Regions from separate parts of the Homo sapiens genome. Here region 1 is linked to region 2. Evidence: promoter capture Hi-C in human tissues and cell types (Jung and others, 2019). All regions are on one chromosome and are shown on one strand. The core of a region is centred on a gene start or on the middle of the fragment in contact, and the rest is flanking DNA. Distances in the headings are between cores, read along the strand shown. Region 1 has its middle 8.2 kb from the start of EMX2. Region 2 holds the start of PRLHR (prolactin releasing hormone receptor).

The links. Contacts are between HindIII fragments. The study calls those that stand out against the background at their distance.
Region 1: a contact is called between a fragment that was not itself captured here and the fragment with the promoter of PRLHR in region 2, in 1 of the 25 tissues and cell types used here (spleen).

What each region holds. Positions count from the first base shown.
Region 1 is chr10:117,532,205-117,536,827 of GRCh38, reverse strand. It overlaps EMX2OS. Among named protein-coding and RNA genes, the nearest start is that of EMX2, 8.2 kb to the left of the region's middle. RefSeq lists an enhancer at 989-1,952. The HindIII fragment of the contact is 5,626 bases long and covers 425-4,623 here.
Region 2 is chr10:118,593,985-118,599,196 of GRCh38, reverse strand. It overlaps PRLHR (prolactin releasing hormone receptor), which reads left to right and starts at 3,549. Exons shown (of 2, transcript NM_004248.3): 1 at 3,549-3,681; 2 at 3,947-5,212. The coding sequence starts at 3,953. The coding sequence ends at 5,065. RefSeq lists enhancers at 2,164-2,972, 2,973-3,781, 3,782-4,590. The HindIII fragment of the contact is 7,132 bases long and covers 971-5,212 here.

The sequences.
Region 1 (4,623 bases), core at 1,988-4,487, 1.1 Mb after region 2:
CGTTGAAACTCGTCACTCCCTCACCACACACACGCTGTCTCGATTCATTATTGAAAGCAAGGAAACAGAACCAAAGGGGTTTGCAGTTTCTTTCTCCCTCAGCTGCCTTCAAATGAAAGCCTAGGACCGAGCAAGGACTGGGAGGGACAGACAGACGTACACACAGACGGTGGTGCAGGAGCTAGGGAAGAAGTACACTCTCTAGTTCGGGCGCCAGCCCGGGATAGGGATGAAGACAGTTGCGTCTCCCTTGCACTCTCTCGGGATGGAGGGTGGGTGGGAGCGTGGCAAGTCCTTCCCATCGCCCCCAAAGCTACATCTCTATGAGCCCACCAGAGCGTGCACCGGCTCCTGAGTTCCCAGAGGACCAGCATGGGGAGCGAAGCGGGGCGCACCTTCCACGCCTCTGCAGCGCTTTCTGGCTTTTCGTGTTTGAGGCTCTGCTCTCTGCCACTGATAGCCCGGCCGGCCTTTTAACTTGGAGTCTGGTCCTCGCCCGACAATGTAAGGCGCTACTTGGGTTTGTCAGCGTCCATCTAGGAGCCTATGCTACTTCTGAAACGCTGGCGTCCCAGGAGCCACACTCTCAGGGGCTTAATCGTCTCTTCCTTTAATACTTCCCCATTTTCTGGACGTGGGGGCTGGGCTGGGGCTTGGAGGGGAAATCCAGCCAACTGAGGAAAAAAAGGAAACTGGAGGTTTTTTATTTTGGACTCTGCGGCCCTCCTTGAAATATGGGGAGGATTGGGGCAAGACTTACAAGAAAACTAACAATTCCTCTCACCTGTATCGAGTTTTAGCAATTTTTTAAAAGTATGTGTGCTCAAGCCCATGATTTCAGTGAACATCACAACCTGGTGTGGTCAGGGAAACAGTCGTGATACCCACTTTTCAGATGAGAAAACTGAGGCTCAGGGAAGTTACAAAAATCACTCCGCGCACCCCCACCTCCTGGCCATGGGTGCAGTGATCACTCCACTTGGAGCCCTGGGAAGACCACCCTCTCCTCCCCGCCCACAGGAGTCAGCCGCCCGCACTCAAGCCAAGGAGAAAAGGCAGGGGAGAATGCCCTGCAGGTGGGCCGGGGTGCACGCGCAAGGTTTGCCCGGGCGGCCCCACTTAATGTCACTCTGGCTCTTGCCTCGTATGCACCCGCTCACCGTTGACCCCCGGGCCGCTCTTCCCGGCCTCAGGCCCTGCCCTCTTTCTTCTTCCTGGTTTAGCTCCTGCGGTCTCCAGCCCCGAGTTTAGGACTGGAAGGCGGAGGGTGGTCGGTGGCCTCGCCGCTGCCAGTGAGCCGAAGCTCGGGCAGGGCAAGCGCTGCGTGGCGGCAGCTGAGACTCCGTGCGCCCCGTATCCCCACGTCGCTCGCGTGGGCGACTCACAGCGGCCGGGAAACCTCTGCTGGTGGCCACAGAGCAGCGCCTGCGCGGGCGGGCGGGAAAACGGGTGCTTCCAACCGCAGCCAGCGAGGCGGCCCCAAGACCCCTCGTCCAGCGTCTTCTTCCCCGGCTCTGCCCCGCCTGCGCGGAGAGAGCTGCGGGACAGAAGAATGGACAGGGACTGGGACCTTCCGAAGGGGCTCACGGGGGTCTGACCACGACCACTCCCCCATCGCGGGCCCTGAGAAGACCCCAACTCTCTCTGGGAGCAGCCGCAGCTTTGCCGGACCAGGAGGCCCTAATTACAGACGGGCTCTGCTGCAACTCGTGGGGGCCCGGCCCCCAGGGGAGAGCGAAGGAATACTCTAGTTCTGGCCCCCGCAGCTGCCCCCGCCCCCGGCCACACGCACATTCTGGGGCCCCTCGATCCTGGAGGTTGGCCATACCAGGCCCGGCTCCCCTGTTTGCATCCCCTCGGCGTCTGGGCGCGGGAAGGCTCCGTGCACCCCGCTTCTCCCACGGCCACGCGGAGCCCTCGGCTTCGTGGCCTGCCCCTGGCGTCTGGAGGAGACACCGCGAGTGAGGCCCGAGGGAGCCTCTGGGGACTCGCAGCAGCCGAAGCCCGCTTGGGCCTCGGAGGCCTCCTCTACGCTGGGCCCGAAGTGTCCTCCCACCCCTGGCGTGGACCCGGAGAGGCCCGACCGCGGCCGCCCTCCGCTTAGCCCCGGCCGCCAGCAGCTTGCCGGGGGCGGCGTGCGCAACAAAGGGTGGCATCGCAGCGGCGCGGACAGGGACAGCATTGATTCAATATTAGCTTTTCATTCCAGTCTATTGTGCCCATCTGAGATAATATTGACTCTGAGGTGAGAGCCCACAGACAACAGGGCTTGTCTAACACTCCGCTGCAGGGCGCTCGAAGGGAAGAGAACCAGAAAGGGCGAGTTAAAGAGAGTGCGAATAAAAGCTGCTCGCGCGGCGCGGTGGCCGCCGCTGGCGCCCAGAACCTCGGACCCGGGAACTGGGGGTCGTGGGAGGGCCGAGGGGTCTGGAGGTGGCTCTGAGGAAGGGAGCTGTGCTGTGCGTTCCCAACGAAAACAGCCCTCGCTTAACACACACTCCCATCTGCCAGACACTTGATGTTGAGGTTCCCCTTCTCGGTAGCTCTGGAGAAAAACTAATTCCCCCCACACACTGTTTTGGGTTGCTAGTAAGCCAGCAGCGGCCACTGAGATATTTTCCCCTTGTAAATGGTGTAACTCTTTAGGGTAACTTTTCTGTCAAAATGTTTCTTCTATTTCCCCAACCAGTGAAGAGTAAACACGCAGCAATTATCATTAAACTGCATTACTTGAGAGAGCGTGTTTAATATCAAATTTCTAACTGTGCATTTGGCTGTGCGTTCAATCGTCTCCTTCCAGCCCATCATTGAGTTCCCTAACTGCCTTTCTAACCGCAGCTTTAAAGGGCCTCTGGAACGTTCCAGTCTTGCATATAAAGATTCGTTTCAATTTTCAAATTGCCTCTAAATGCCTCCGTTGGAAAATGGCACTTTAAGTTGTTTTACGTGTCGGAGACAGAATACTTAGGCTTACACTCGGGGCACCAAACGCAAAACGCTCAGGGCTTGCAGTGAACCTGGTGAGTGTGCCCTCGGGTGTCATTTACAGAATTGGTGCCCTCCTCCCAATTGGAGTTTGACCTCTATCAGAGATAATCTCTTCACTCCTTTACCCCAATGAGGAGCTGGTCGTTTGAGATCTTTTCATCCACCCCAAAGGCACGTGGGCGCGTGGGGAACTGGGATAGGGTGAGGGCTGGGGTGGCTGCATCACTATGAGGAGACGCTGATGTGCTTCCCTCCTTCCCCTCCAGCGCCTTGTACTGAGCTGGTGCTCGGCGACAAGGAGCAGATCGGTACCTGGGCTATTTCAGAGGACACGATGTCTCCTATGTACCATCTATAACATAGATGTTCCGTTTGTATTATATGCTGTTTAACATATAAATATGTATTATGTGGTTTCATATCATAAATTAATATTTAACATCCAGTTCCGATATAATGTTGTTATATTACTTATCTAACAATGTTTTATCATATATTATTATACAATGTATGTTGTATACAATTCTAGATGTGTGTGTGTGTGAATGTATTTGGGAGAGCCTTTAATCTCCAAGTATGCATTTGATCATTTTAATGTAACTTTATAAAGTCCTAATCGAAGCCACTTTGAAACCAGCTATGTCTTTATAGCAAAATACCCTGGAGTCCACTGTCGGCTCTAGGACAAAGTTGGGGGGAAGGTAGCTGCTGTGAGGGACAGCAGGTCCCCATTGGAAAGTGATTTTCCAAATGTTTATTCCCCGGGGACAGAGGAGCCGATGTTCTGATGTTCTGGACTCCGCGGCCGTCTCCTGTCCTCGCTTGTGTTATGGTGGTTGTTTTGGTTTTGAGAGAGGCTGTTTAGAGGCTCTAGTGATCCCTAAACTGATGTCATGAATTAAAAATGAATGTGAGGAGTGCAGCATATGCTCGGCTGAGGAGTCTGGGAGCTCAGCGGAGGCCTTTCACCTCGGGTTCCGGGCTCCAGACGACAAACTGCAGGGCTCCAGCCTGGGTGCCCGATGCGGAGGGGCCTGGCAGAGCGGAGGCGCTGCGCGGGCTCCCGCAGGTCCTCTGCCCCAGCTCGCGGCCGCCCGTCCCTACCCCGGACTGGGAAAAGCTGTCTAGGGCTTGCATCGTTTACAGATCAGATGGTCCCAACTACAGTCTGCTTTTAATACCAATTGAGAGCTAAAATAAGCAAGCAGTCGGGAGTTCCCGTTGGAGGGCAGGGGCCAGGTGTGCTGGAGGAAAATAAAGTCGGAATTTCAGATGTCCTCACGTTATCGCTCCGTTAAAAGGCAAGAACCGCGCAAGTGATTTAGTTTAGGGAGGTGGGGGGAAAAAAGAAAAAAAGAGACGAAGTCAGGTGTAGCCAAAGAAAAGATCAGAAATGAGAACCGTCCTAACTTTACAGCTTAATAAACAGGAGGCTGCTAACTCAGAAGCTTGGGAGCTGGGGAAGGAAATTGGGCTGGTGAGGTGGGGAGGTAGGGAGGGTAGGCTCAGCAAAAGGGCAAGAGGGAGAGGAGACTGTCAGGATGCCGTGGGCTGTTTATTTCTCAAAAGCAAAAACCCCCAAACGGTTACCTGGTGAACATCTTGTAGAACAAAACAAAGAAACTTGGCTAAAAC
Region 2 (5,212 bases), core at 2,300-4,799:
GAGCCAGTTTTCTCATCTGTAAAATGGGTATAATAATAATTTTGAGGGGACTCAAATGAGACAATTTGTGTGATGTACTTAGCAATGGCTGGCATGCCTAAAGCCCTAAGTAAATGGTAACTATTTTTATTCATTCAATAAAAAAAAAGAAAAAGAAAAACACATGTATTGGGTATCTGCTGGGCTCGTGGCATGTTGTAGGTACAAAATGTATCAAGACATTGGCCCTGTCCATAAAGAATTTACAGTCAGGGTTGGTGGAGGCAGGGAAGCTAAACACTTCCGTAATTTCAAGGTAGAAATTAATAAAAGACAGAAAGATTATGGAAGGGACAAGTCTTTGAGAACAGTTGTCCTTGGGTTGGGTCTTGTAGGATGTGAAGAATGTGGACAGGTAGAGTTGAGTGGGGATTAAACAACTGACATTGTGGAGAAAAGAAATAAACCTTAAGAGAGGAATTAGACAGGAATGGTGAGGATATCTCAGCACCCAGCAAAGTTTGGCTTGTACCTAGGAAGTAAAATGGACAGAGGTGGGAAGCTAGACCAAAAAAATGAGGACATATCAGAAAGGGAGTGCACACTGGTTGGAAATACCATGCGAAAGCATCTGGCCTTGGTTGGATGGGCTATTGAAGACTTTTGGAGAATGGGAGGAAGTAAAATCCCATAGTTTGCTGTCTACTGTATGAAGTATTACCTTTCCTTCATTTATCCTATTTTTTTTTGTTTATTTATGCTCTCTCAGGTTTTTGGAGCATTCTTAGTACTGGACAGTCTGAACATTAGCATGATTTAATCATGATGTGCTGGCTGGGAGAGGGACTAGCCTTAACTCCAGTGAGGAGAAGAGGGAATGAAGCCCTAATAGGCCACATTAAATCTTCATTCCCTCTTCAAAGGACAGCTGTTCACTTCCTTTCCACCTTGCAAATATTGATAATACTAAAATGCTTGCCCAACTTTATCTGGAATTTGGCAAATGATCCACTCTTTCCTCTGGAGGGTGCCCCAATATTGAAACTTCAAATATCCATGTTTACATGACCTTCAGTTATTGACAAAGTTGTCTTCGTATTATTACTTTTACTATTATATATGATAATTGACCAATATAATGATATTGACCAGAATGATGGCTCTAGTTAGGAGGCCTAACAACATCCCAAATCCTTTTTCACTGACTTTATCGCAATTTCCTCTGCTTAAGAGATTTTGAAACAAAAGAGTGCCCCTGCTCTTGGGTGCATAAAACCCTGCAGGTGAAAATGATGAGAAAAATTACTGGGCAAGGTATTAGGCAGGCACTGATTGTATCCTATTTAGAGCTCTGCAATTAAAAAAGTATATATAATACTGAGACTGGGTGCAGTAGCTCATGCTTGTAATCCCAGAACTTTGGGAGTCTGAAGCGGGAGGATTGCTTGAGCCTAGGAGTTCAGTCAGCCTGGGCAACATGGCAAAACCTCACCTCTACAAAAAATTAGGCCAGGCGCAGTGGCTTACGTGTGTAATTCCAGCACTTTGGGAGGCCGAGGTGGGCGGATCACGAGGTCAAGAGATCAAGACCATCCTGGCCAACATGGTGAAACCCCGTCTCTACTAAAAATACAAAATCATCTGGGCATGGTGGCACGTGCCTGTAGTCACAGCTACTCGGGAGGCTGAGGCAGGAGAATCGCTTGAACCTGGGAGGCAGAGGTTGCAGTGAGCTGAGATCACACCACTGCACTCCAGCCTGGCGACAGAGCAAGACTCCGCCTCAAAAGAAACAAATAAACAAAAATTAGTCAGGCATGGTGGTGTGCACCCGTAGTTCCAGCTACTTGAGAGGCTGAGAGGTGGGAGGATGGCTTTGGCCTGGGAGGTTGAGGCTGCAGTGAGCCATGATTGTGCCACTGCACTCCAGCCTGGGTGACAGAGTGAGATCTTGTCCTAACATATACATGTATATATACACACACACTGGTTTTAGCTAAATTGATTATAACTCAGGGACCGTGAGCTTAGGATGGACAGAGGTGCATAACATTGATTACTTTTGTTCCAATATTGACTTTTTTCTATATGAGTGATTCATTTAAATTTGGAGGGTGGAATAAATTGATATTAGTTTCCAGTCTAACTGGAATATCTGCAGCCAGAGGACAAAGTACAAGGACTTATCAGAGAGGAGACAATGAAGCTCCATGCTCTGGAAAAAGGAAACAAGAGGCTGAGGGAATGAGATAGCTTCTAAGGAGGGAGCTTACAAAGGCCCCTCCTCCCCTGGCTCTTGCCCCGTGGGCCAGGCTAATTTGCATTTCAATGAGGACTTAATACTACTGAAGATTTTATGAAACGCCTAAGCTTCTCAAATGTTTGTTACTTTTGTTACCCTAGCTGAAATCTGCAATTACCAGTATTTTTAAAAAATCCTAAAATGAAGAGAAGAGGCCTGTGGGTGTTCAGTCAAGGAGGGAGGGGTCAAGTCTCAGTCCAGGAACTACTCTGTGCTGGGAGAAGCAGCCAGATACGGCACAGGTCGCGGTAGCCGAGAAAGAAAGCGAGAGAAAGGGTGAGCCGGGGAGTCGCTGGGCCAGACTGAAGTGTGCCTGTGTAGAATAACTGGCAGGAGAGCTGCATTTTCTGACCCCGGGAGGTAAAAGACGACGCCGTCCTTGGCACTGAGTGCGGTGACCACCAAGAGGAGCAAAAGTCATGAGTCTCCGACCCCCAGGCCCCCGGCTCAGCTGCCTCCACTCCACCCTACTCTTCTCAGCCCCAGCCCAGAAAGCAGGCAGCGAGGCAGGTCTTTGAACCGGACCAGGTTCCTTCCCCAAACACCCGGATCCAGAGAGGGGCAGGAATTCCCTAGTCATTTTCCCCTGCTCCTCCCCACATCATCCGCCCGAGGGGCGGCAGATCCAGCGGAAGCTGTCCGTGGTGCTGACTCCTGCCTTTGGCTTGGCCGGACCCGCTGCCCGCTGAGCGCGCTGCAGCCAAGCAGGGGGCTCGTGTGGCGGGGCCACGGGAGGGTGAGGGTCCTCAGGTCCGCGACCAGCTCCAGGCTCTGCTGTTAAATCCCAGCCCGAGCCCTCTAGCGTCTCTGCCCTCCGCAACCTGGCCGCTAGGCAGGATCCAGCCTTTAAGAACGGGTCAGTCGTGCCTCTCTCAAGCCCCCAGCTGCATTGCAATCTCCCACCGCTACTTCCTTCCCCGCTCCTTCCCTCCTAAGACTGCACCGGCTCCTCCCGATAGCCTGACGCTTCGCGCCTCTCCTCCGCCCTCCTCCACTGTGCGCTCCTCCGGACCCTGACCCTCCAGGGGCCGTGCAAGCTCCTGCAGTAGAGATTCGTCCTCTTCGCTGCTCTGGCCAGGTTTGCCGGCCCCTCCTCCCGTTTCGGATTCCATCCTCCCCACACTGTCCTCTTCACTAGTTCTCTAAGCACCGAGCATGGCAGAGCGCGCTCCACCCCTATTTTCCATACATGGGAGCTGGAGTGGGGGGCGGAGCTGAGGGGAGGCGCTCCCAGTCCCTCTAAGAAGCTGCTAGCCCACTGGGAAACATTTGGATCCGTTCAGCTCCCGCGGAGAAGCGAGACCGGATCACCGACGTGGGCAGAGGACTACCGAGGGCCAGCAGAAATTCTGCCCCTTCTTCCCGCGAGTGCTTTCCCGCTCTCCAAACCCCACTCCCAGGTAGGATCGCGCTCCTGAGTCTGCCTGCGTGGACTGCGAGGACCGTAAATAGAGGCGGAAGCGTTTAAATAAACCGTATGTTCTAACCGTGCTTAGGTTTATTTTACAGAGGTGAGAGGACAACACTTTTTGCTACTTTTGCTGTTGTTCTGTGGCCGGTTATTCCCAAGGGAGGACTCAGGCGATGGGGGAGGGGCGCGGCTGGTGTAGGAGGTCGGATGGAGTATGGCAAGGGAAGTGACGGACTTTGATTACCTTTGAACAGGTGGCCATGGCCTCATCGACCACTCGGGGCCCCAGGGTTTCTGACTTATTTTCTGGGCTGCCGCCGGCGGTCACAACTCCCGCCAACCAGAGCGCAGAGGCCTCGGCGGGCAACGGGTCGGTGGCTGGCGCGGACGCTCCAGCCGTCACGCCCTTCCAGAGCCTGCAGCTGGTGCATCAGCTGAAGGGGCTGATCGTGCTGCTCTACAGCGTCGTGGTGGTCGTGGGGCTGGTGGGCAACTGCCTGCTGGTGCTGGTGATCGCGCGGGTGCGCCGGCTGCACAACGTGACGAACTTCCTCATCGGCAACCTGGCCTTGTCCGACGTGCTCATGTGCACCGCCTGCGTGCCGCTCACGCTGGCCTATGCCTTCGAGCCACGCGGCTGGGTGTTCGGCGGCGGCCTGTGCCACCTGGTCTTCTTCCTGCAGCCGGTCACCGTCTATGTGTCGGTGTTCACGCTCACCACCATCGCAGTGGACCGCTACGTCGTGCTGGTGCACCCGCTGAGGCGGCGCATCTCGCTGCGCCTCAGCGCCTACGCTGTGCTGGCCATCTGGGCGCTGTCCGCGGTGCTGGCGCTGCCCGCCGCCGTGCACACCTATCACGTGGAGCTCAAGCCGCACGACGTGCGCCTCTGCGAGGAGTTCTGGGGCTCCCAGGAGCGCCAGCGCCAGCTCTACGCCTGGGGGCTGCTGCTGGTCACCTACCTGCTCCCTCTGCTGGTCATCCTCCTGTCTTACGTCCGGGTGTCAGTGAAGCTCCGCAACCGCGTGGTGCCGGGCTGCGTGACCCAGAGCCAGGCCGACTGGGACCGCGCTCGGCGCCGGCGCACCTTCTGCTTGCTGGTGGTGATCGTGGTGGTGTTCGCCGTCTGCTGGCTGCCGCTGCACGTCTTCAACCTGCTGCGGGACCTCGACCCCCACGCCATCGACCCTTACGCCTTTGGGCTGGTGCAGCTGCTCTGCCACTGGCTCGCCATGAGTTCGGCCTGCTACAACCCCTTCATCTACGCCTGGCTGCACGACAGCTTCCGCGAGGAGCTGCGCAAACTGTTGGTCGCTTGGCCCCGCAAGATAGCCCCCCATGGCCAGAATATGACCGTCAGCGTGGTCATCTGATGCCACTTAGCCAGGCCTTGGTCAAGGAGCTCCACTTCAACTGGCCTCCTAGGGCACCACTCGAGGTCAATCTGGTGCTTATTCTCAGCACCAGAGCTAGCTAAGCCAACATAGGGCAACATTTCCAGCCCAGCCCTCTTGTCCGGC